Linked DNA regions of Homo sapiens: regions 1 and 2 are each linked to region 3. The links are contacts of gene promoters, found by promoter capture Hi-C in blood cells and fetal thymus (Javierre and others, 2016). All regions are on one chromosome and are shown on one strand. The core of a region is centred on a gene start or on the middle of the fragment in contact, and the rest is flanking DNA. Distances in the headings are between cores, read along the strand shown. Region 1 has its middle 50 kb from the start of CCDC190. Region 2 has its middle 79 kb from the start of RGS4. Region 3 holds the start of RGS5-AS1 (RGS5 antisense RNA 1).

What was found. The method cuts DNA at HindIII sites, captures the fragments that hold promoters and counts their contacts. A CHiCAGO score of 5 or more calls a contact.
Region 1: a contact is called between a fragment that was not itself captured here and the fragment with the promoter of RGS5-AS1 in region 3, in 3 of 17 cell types (monocytes, M2 macrophages and endothelial precursors). The highest score is 7.5, in monocytes.
Region 2: a contact is called between a fragment that was not itself captured here and the fragment with the promoter of RGS5-AS1 in region 3, in 1 of 17 cell types (monocytes). The highest score is 5.2, in monocytes.

The regions. Positions count from the first base shown.
Region 1 is chr1:162,909,836-162,912,535 of GRCh38, forward strand. No RefSeq gene overlaps it. Among named protein-coding and RNA genes, the nearest start is that of CCDC190, 50 kb to the left of the region's middle. The HindIII fragment of the contact is 5,166 bases long and covers 1-2,700 here.
Region 2 is chr1:162,989,098-162,991,797 of GRCh38, forward strand. No RefSeq gene overlaps it. Among named protein-coding and RNA genes, the nearest start is that of RGS4, 79 kb to the right of the region's middle. The HindIII fragment of the contact is 4,782 bases long and covers 1-2,700 here.
Region 3 is chr1:163,160,362-163,163,061 of GRCh38, forward strand. It overlaps RGS5-AS1 (RGS5 antisense RNA 1), which reads left to right and starts at 1,314. Exons shown (of 4, transcript NR_110699.1): 1 at 1,314-1,480; 2 at 2,425-2,515. RGS5 (regulator of G protein signaling 5) reads right to left here. Exons shown (of 5, transcript NM_003617.4): 3 at 1,554-1,615. The HindIII fragment of the contact is 14,512 bases long and covers 272-2,700 here.

The DNA.
Region 1 (2,700 bases), core at 82-2,581, 250 kb before region 3:
ACGTGCCACTGCACTCCAGCCTGGGTGCCAGAGTGACACTCCATCTCAAAAAAAAAAAAAAAAAAAGAAAGTGGGGTATTCAAATATCTATTATCATTGAATTGTGCCTATTTTGCTCTTTAATTCTATAGTTTTTGCTACAGTAGCTAAGTTTATTGGTGTTTATGATTGTTATCTCCACTTGATGAGTTGATTTTTATTATTATAAAGGGTCCCTGTGGCATAATAAGAAAGATGTTTAGCCTTTGTCCCCAGTTTCTGGCACAGAGCTTCTAAGACTCTTGGAATTCTTTAAGCGATATGGATTTTGAACTGTCTTTTGTTCTAATGAGGTGACTCTTCTTGGAAGGCCACTAGATAGCTTCAGGAAGGGAGCTGGTCTCCAGAAAAGCCAAGTTTTAGAAGTTTCAGCCCCATACTCCAAACTCCAGGGAGAAAAGAAGGACTAGAGACTGAGTTAATCATCAATAGCAATTTAATCACAGACTATGATTTAATCAGTCGTGCCTATGTAATGAAACCTCCATAAGCTATTCTAAATGATGAGGTTCAGAGAGTTTCCAGATTAGTGAACACATCAAGAAGCTGAGAAATTTGCATGCCCAGTGTGGCATGGAAGCTCTGTGCCTCCCCTCTCCATACCCTGTCCTGTGTTTCTCTTTCATGCCTCAAAAAGTTGTATTCTTTGTTCCGATGTGTCTCCTTTGTAATAATTGGTGAATAGCAAGTAAAAACACTTTACTGAGTTCTGTGAGTTGTTCTGGCAAATTATCAAAACTGAGCTGAATGTGAGGCCATGGGGGAGGTTATGAGGAACCCCAGATTTGTAGCCATGTCAGAAAGAAGTCTGGGTAATCTGAGGATCTATGGCTAGTGTCTAAAGTGAGGGCAGTTTTGTGGGACTGAGCTCTCAAACCTGTGAAGTCTAATGCTAATTCTGTGCAGTTGGTGTCAGAACTAAATTGAATTATAGGACACTTAGTTGTTTGAGAGTTGAAGAAGTGTTATTGCAAAAGACTACATATCTGGTGTCAGGAGGAAGAAAGTCTTCAGTAACAATTTTTTCTTAAAGTCTATTTTGTTTGGATTAGCTCAGTCACTCTACTCTCTTTTGATTACTTGTTGTATGATACATCTTTTTTGAGTCTTTTACTTTCAACCTATTTGTGTCTCTGAATCTGAAGTGTTTTTCTCTAGACAACAAATAGTTGAATCATTTAAAAATTTGTTCTGCCAATCTCTTTCAATCTCTTTTAAGTGCTTAATGCATTTATATTTTATATAATTATTATACTTATTAATTATGATTAATGCATTATAGTTTATATAGTTACTGGTAAAGGATTTAAATCTGACAGTCTTCATTTTCTACATGTCTTTTTTTGTTTGTTACTCCATTACTGTCTTCTTTTCTATTAACTAGATACTTTCTAGTGTACCATTTTAATTCCCTTATCAATGTTTACTATTTTTTTGAGTTATTCTCTTAGTGGTTGTCCTGGGGATTACAATGAACATATTCTTTTTAATAATTTAGTTTGGATTAATACCAATTTAGTTGAGACAGTATATAATATATATAGCTCCAATCTCTCCTTGTTCCTTTGTGATGTTATTGTTCTACAATTTGTATTTTTATGTATTATTTGACTGTCAGTATAGATTTATAATTATTTCTTTACGCAATTGACTTTTAAGTCAAATGGAAGAAAAAAGAGCTACAAACAAAAGATAGACTTATACTGTGTTTTATATTTGCTTATGTAGTTACCTTACTAGTATTTTATTTCTGCATGTGGATTAAAACTACTGTCAGCCGGGCGCAGTGGCTCACGCCTGTAATCCCAGCACTTTTGAAGGCTGAGGTGGGCAGATCATGAGGTCAGGGGTTCGAGACCAGCCTGGCTAACATGGTGAAACCCCAACTCTACTAAAAATACAAAAATTAGCCTGGCGTGGTGGCAGGTCTCTGTAATTCCAGCTACTTAGGAGGCTGAGGCAGGAGAATTGCTTGAACCTGGGAGGTGAAGGTTGCAGTGAGCAGAGATCATGCCACTGCACTCCAGCCTGGGCAACAGAGCAAGACTCAGTCTTGGGGAAAAACAAACAAACAAACAAACAAACAAACAAACAAACAAGCTACTGTCTAGCATCCTCTCATTTCAGCCTAAAGGAAACACTTCAGTGTTTTTTGGTAGGGCAGGTGTGCTAATAATAAATTCTCTTGTTTTTATTTATTTACAAATGTTTTAATTTCTCCTGCATTTTTGAAAAACACCTTTACTGGTCTGCTGGATATAGAGTTCCTGTTTAATAGTTTTGTCTTTTTTTTTTTTAAAAATCTGTCAGCACTTTGAATATGTCATCTCATTGCCTTCTATTCCCCATTGTTTCTGATGAGAAATCAGTTGTTAATCTTATTGAGAATCTCTTGTGTATGTGAAAAGTCACTTCTCTCTTGCTGCTTTCAAAATTATTTCAGTCATTTGACAGTTTGATTATGACATATGGATTCCTTGATGTTTATCTTATTTGGAGTATGTTGAGTTTCTTGGATGTGTAGATTAATGGTTTTCATCAAAATCTGGGAAGTTTTCAGCCATTATTTCTTCAGATATCCTTTCTTTCCTTTTTTCGTTCTGCTCTTCTTTTGTGTATGTCAATGAACTTGATGCTATCCCACAGGTTTCTTAGACTGTT
Region 2 (2,700 bases), core at 118-2,617, 170 kb before region 3:
CACCTGGTGGATTTTAGATCAGGGACACTGCTGCCCCTCACATGCGTCCTATGAAAGGAGATAAAACGATTGATCTCAGTATCCTTTCCCATCCCCGGGGCATTGGGTCAAGGTTGTTTAAGGATCATGTGGTTTCCAAGTAGTTTAGAATTCCAGCTTATCTCTCCCCATTTCATCACTCAGCTTTAGAATGCTCTAAGCCAATTGCAATTAAAGTTCTAATGGAAATCTCATAAGGTAGTGAGTTCAGGAGGTTTTCTAACTAGAATAAACACAGCCACTACTTAGTGATCTTGGATAAGTCACATACTTTTTCTGCAGCGATCTATATACAATGTAAAGCCTGTAGGATTAAAACAGAAATAAAATCCTTAACACTTCTAATATCCTACGAGTGTAAATGATCATTCCCATGCAACCCCCTACAAACCCTCATCACCACCCCAAATTCAGCTCATCAGAAAGAATTAGCACATACTTAATATTTATTCCTCCTATTTTTTTCTCTTGAAGAATTGTGAAGTTATAGAACTTGAGAGTTGAAATGGGTCCCAGGAAGAAAATGGCAGTAGCTGTGCAGTGGATGTCTCCCTCGCTGTGTGAAGAAAATGTGTATCTCTAGATCAAAGAGGCAAGAGCCGGTCATCATTGCCAGTTTTCAGATCAGGAATTGGAGGACTTTAGAAGAAAGCACAGGTGCCTTCTTACCCCTAGGACAGGTTATGGCATTTTCCTCTGTCAACCACAGTCTCTTGTTGAGCTATTCCCCTAAACAGTGATTCCTTCTCCCCAACCTATATTCTCTTCTTTGCCCTGCTCCATCTAAAATCTGCTCTCAGGCCCTTCCCTGCACAAATTCTTCATTCCAACTAAAGTATATGCATTAAAATTGTACTCTATACTGAAGGCTTTGGAATTTAACCTCATTTCATGCCTAGGGAACACATTATAGGGGCAGATCCATATTTGAGCATAGGCTTCTCCACAGAAATCCTCCCTGCTCCAGCCACATCCTCCCCACTCCAGTCTTGCTGTGGATAGCACAGACAAACCATGTGTCCAATGTGGGATCCAAGTGAAAAGACAAAAGGACTCGATGTCACCTTTTTGGACCCATTCTCTTAAGCTGAGGGGACATTTCTAGACTTCTGTTAAATGTTATTTCTTTGGCACCTTCCACACTGAGAGTAAAGATGCTGACTTCAAGGTTCTACATTTTACAAAAAGCTAGAGATGTTCTTTTTAATCTCACTAAATGTGTATTTGAAGAGCCTCAAGAATTCACGTTTCTAAAGAGACACATTGCCCTCGTCCTGTCTCCTGTCCTGTGAGGTTTTACGTCAGCCCACCTTTATTGTCTTTGTGTGTCATCTGTCAGTGGGCTCTCTGGAGCCAAGATGAGGACACTCTTTTCAAGCACTTACCAAGCCTCCCTTCAAGCAATGGCATCAGTGGAAATTCTGTGAGAAAAAGAAGAAGGGTGACTTCTGGAGAGAACTAAGTGCAGTTCATGGCATTCGATGCTCATTATGAAAAGCCATCACAAGGTGCAGCACCCTGATTTTTTCAGTGTACCCCAAAGTATTAGGCTTTTCTTTCACTGTTCTCACAGTGTTTGTCATAGTTTATTGTCATAAACTTTACAGCCATGAACACTGGCATTATTCAGGGAGTTTTTCAACATTTTCCCTAATCTCATGACCATGGCTTCTGGTATTCTTATCCATTAATCACTGTGACTCCTTCACCATACCCGCTTATCTTATTTCAAGAGGGCAACGTAAAACACATATCCAACCTCAGATGTTCATTTATGTTAATACTTAATGGCCATTCCCCTTAAAAAATCCAGAAGGTATCATTCCAGCCCCCAAGGAACTCATACTCAGTAGCGGGAGGCTGACTAACATTTAAAAAATCCAGGCTGTGTGCAGTGGCTCACACCTGTAATCCTAGCACTCTGGGAGGCCAAGGCGGGAGGATTGCCTGAGCTCAGAAGTTTGAGACCAGTCTGGGAAACATGGTGAAACCCCATCTCTACTACAAAAAAAAAAAAAAAATTAGCCAGGTGTGGCGGCATGTGCCTGTAGTCCCAGCTACTCGGGAGGCTGAGGCAGGAGAATTCCTTGAACCCGGGAGGCGGAGGTTGCAGTGAACCAAGATTGAGTCGTCACTGCACTCCAGCCTGGGTGATGGAGCGAGACTCCATCTCTTAAAAACAAAAAAAACAAAAAACTGAAGTAATGTGGTGAGTGGAAATGGAGGCAGATACTATGTTATGCGAAGGCTAGAGGACAAATTAGTTAACTTCATGTGTGCAAATGTGGAGAGGTTCAAGAAGGAGAGTGGGGGGAGGCAAAGCAGGCAGAAATGGGAGTTAGAGAAAGCAGACAGGAGAGGTGGCCGTGGGAATTGAATTTTGAAGGTTAAACAAAAACTTGTTGAAGAATACTCCAGCTAGATCTCTGTAGCTGGAGAGATACTGGTACTGCAAACCAGAGGTACGGGTACTGCAAACAAGTTGAAACAGCATTGCAGATCTTCAGGAAACCACAAAAGGCCCAGCAGAGCTGGAGGGGGCTGTTTGGTGTGAGATGGAGTAGGGCAACAGGCGATCACCTGCCCCATGTGCGTGCTGTGGCGAGAAGACTGGAATCTCTATGAGGTATTAGGGGTCTCATTAAGCAGGTGAGCGAGAGA
Region 3 (2,700 bases), core at 64-2,563:
CAATAAGTCCATTAATAAACATAAATATTATTCTACTAGTTGACCTTGTGGAATTTCTAGGTCCAAGAAGCAAAATGAATTTAGTTCATTCACTCATTCACTACATAACTATTCACCAAACATCTTACATGTGTCAGGGCAGGGTACTTTGTTTAGCACAAGAAAAAAAGAGAGAGAATCAGAAATGAATAAGCTAGAGAAAGTTCCAAATTAGAGACTGTGGGGTTCTGTCTCCAAAAATAAAAGATTAATTCTATTGCAGGTAAGCAGAAGCTTATGACACCAAAAGCAAGACATAAGGAATGTTCATATACAATTCAACATATATTCTTTGTCATCTACTCTGTGCCCATTAATCATAATGGTCTTGTGAGAAATATTTTGTAAATCCTTATCTTTGCAAAGCATGTGACAAAGTTTCATATTCCATTCTTGTTATAAAGATGGAGAAATATAGGTAGGGTATTTTAAATTGACTCATACTTTTAGAGTGAATTATTCAACAAATATTTGTTTTCCCGATACTATATACTTCCTGTTTTGAAATTATCTACATGAAAAAGACTAATTCTTGCCCGTTTGTGAGTTTATAACCTATCATAGAAGTGAGCCAACTATGAACAGAACATAAGGCAGCAAGTATTAAGTAGAATAAAAGATGTGCAGACAAATGACTTTGGAATTTCAGAGGGTGGATAAATTGTTCTGGATGGTCAAGGAACACTAGGCATTTCTTATTTGAATTATCTATTATAGGAGAGGGAGAATTTCAAGAGAGAGAGATATGAGTAAAAGATATTCCAGCCAAGGGGATTATATGTAGAAATCCTATATGGAACAGAGAACTGTTCAATTTGCCTGCAGACCGGCCATATAGTTATGGTGATCTTGAACATCAGAAATTTGAACTTGGTACTGTAAGCCATGGGAATCAGTAAGGATTTTGGATTGGGGAAATGCACCTAGTGCTTATTGATGCACTGGTATTAGCTTGGAAAAGAGTCTGCACTGATCAGCACCTTTGTCATTTCTTGAATTAAGATGTAAAAGGCATGGTGCCAGAAGAGGAAACGGAGGCTGGGGGAGATAACAACCCATGTCAGGTCACAAGAGCAGTTGACAGTATAATAGTTTGAACCAGGATGTACTACTCATGACTTGTTAGCGATCTTTATGCTGCTATATCTGATCTTTATCAATTTATTATGAGGCTAAGTCAGGAAATGTAATTTCTCTATTTTACTGATGAGAATGTTGAGGAGGTCAAGCCACTTGTTCTGGCTCATGCAAGTAAGCAGGACAGATGGGAACACAACTGCAATCATGAGTCTTCAGAACACCTTATGTTCACATTCCCTCATAGTGCCACAGACCCTCCTTTTCTTGTGAACTGGATAATCACATACCTGCAGCCCCCTTCCCTTATTGATATCACCTTCAAAAATTGAAGAAATGTCAACATTGGGGAAGAAGAACACAGGTAATACAAAGATGTTTTTTGTTTCTGTCTCTAACCTGACCTTTATTTAAAAAAACAAACAATGGAAACTTACAGTTGTTCTGCAGGAGTTTGTCCAGGGAATCACGCCACTGCAGGGCCTCGTCCAGCGAGGTTCTACATCAATAATAAGGAGAGAAAAGGGGTATGGCGTAAGTAGGCATTGAACCACATGTACCAGCAATAACTACTTCCTGTTTCTCTTAGATGGAAATGATATGACTGCTGGTCTATCCTCAGGACAAGGAAGTTTAAGTTATTTTCTCTCTAACAATTGGGTTTGATGAGCTGGGTTTGCTTTCATACATCTTTATTGCATATCTTCATCTTTTTTGAACATTTTGGTTAGGTCTTTCCCTTTTTAAAAGTAGAGTTCGTTTGACATTAAGCTGTGTCTTGATAGTCTTATGTATCCCATGAAAGTTGTTCCAACTGTGGTCTTTTTTCCAAATATAACTTCATGAAATCCAGTTGTCCCATTACAGAGATTGAACTCCTGTTCTCTGCCTCACCAATACTGCATGTTAACCACCTAACTGAATCAGCAGAGGGCATTGGGGTTCCACATCCACATCCCAAAGCTGTCTAATTAAGGATAGTGGAAGATGTGAGTGTATAATGCTTTCCTTATGTTGGGATTGTGATCATAGCAAATTTACATGTTAAAAACGTAGGCGCATTTTTCCTACCCACTTATAACAGGATCAGACTTTTTTTTAAAGATTTACTCTTTCTAATTTAAAAAAAAAAAGAGTGGTTAATATATCCTGAACAGGAATGTTATACACAAATGCTTGAGATGCTGACTCAAAAGGAGAAGGTTATAGCCAACATATAATTTCTCCTTAGGCTGTTTCTATTTTAACATTTATATATGCAGAAACCCTGAAGCTATTTCATCTCAACCACCAATTTTTCTCTCACAGCAGGATGTGTCAAGTGGAGCTGATATTGTCCGGGAAAAATGGCTGACTGCACACTCTTCGGCTCACCCAGCTCGAACTCTTGCATTATGATGTGAGTTCTTCGTTGCCAAATCAAAACAGACTGACAAAGCATTTACTAGAATATTAAGGCCAGTTTTTCCTAAACTGGAATTTCCTTAGCTCTTAATTTGTTTATCAACTGTCCAGGCAATCAAAAAAAATTCCTGCTTCTAGTTTTTATACAATGATATTTCGGGGGGGGGGGTGGTTAATTAT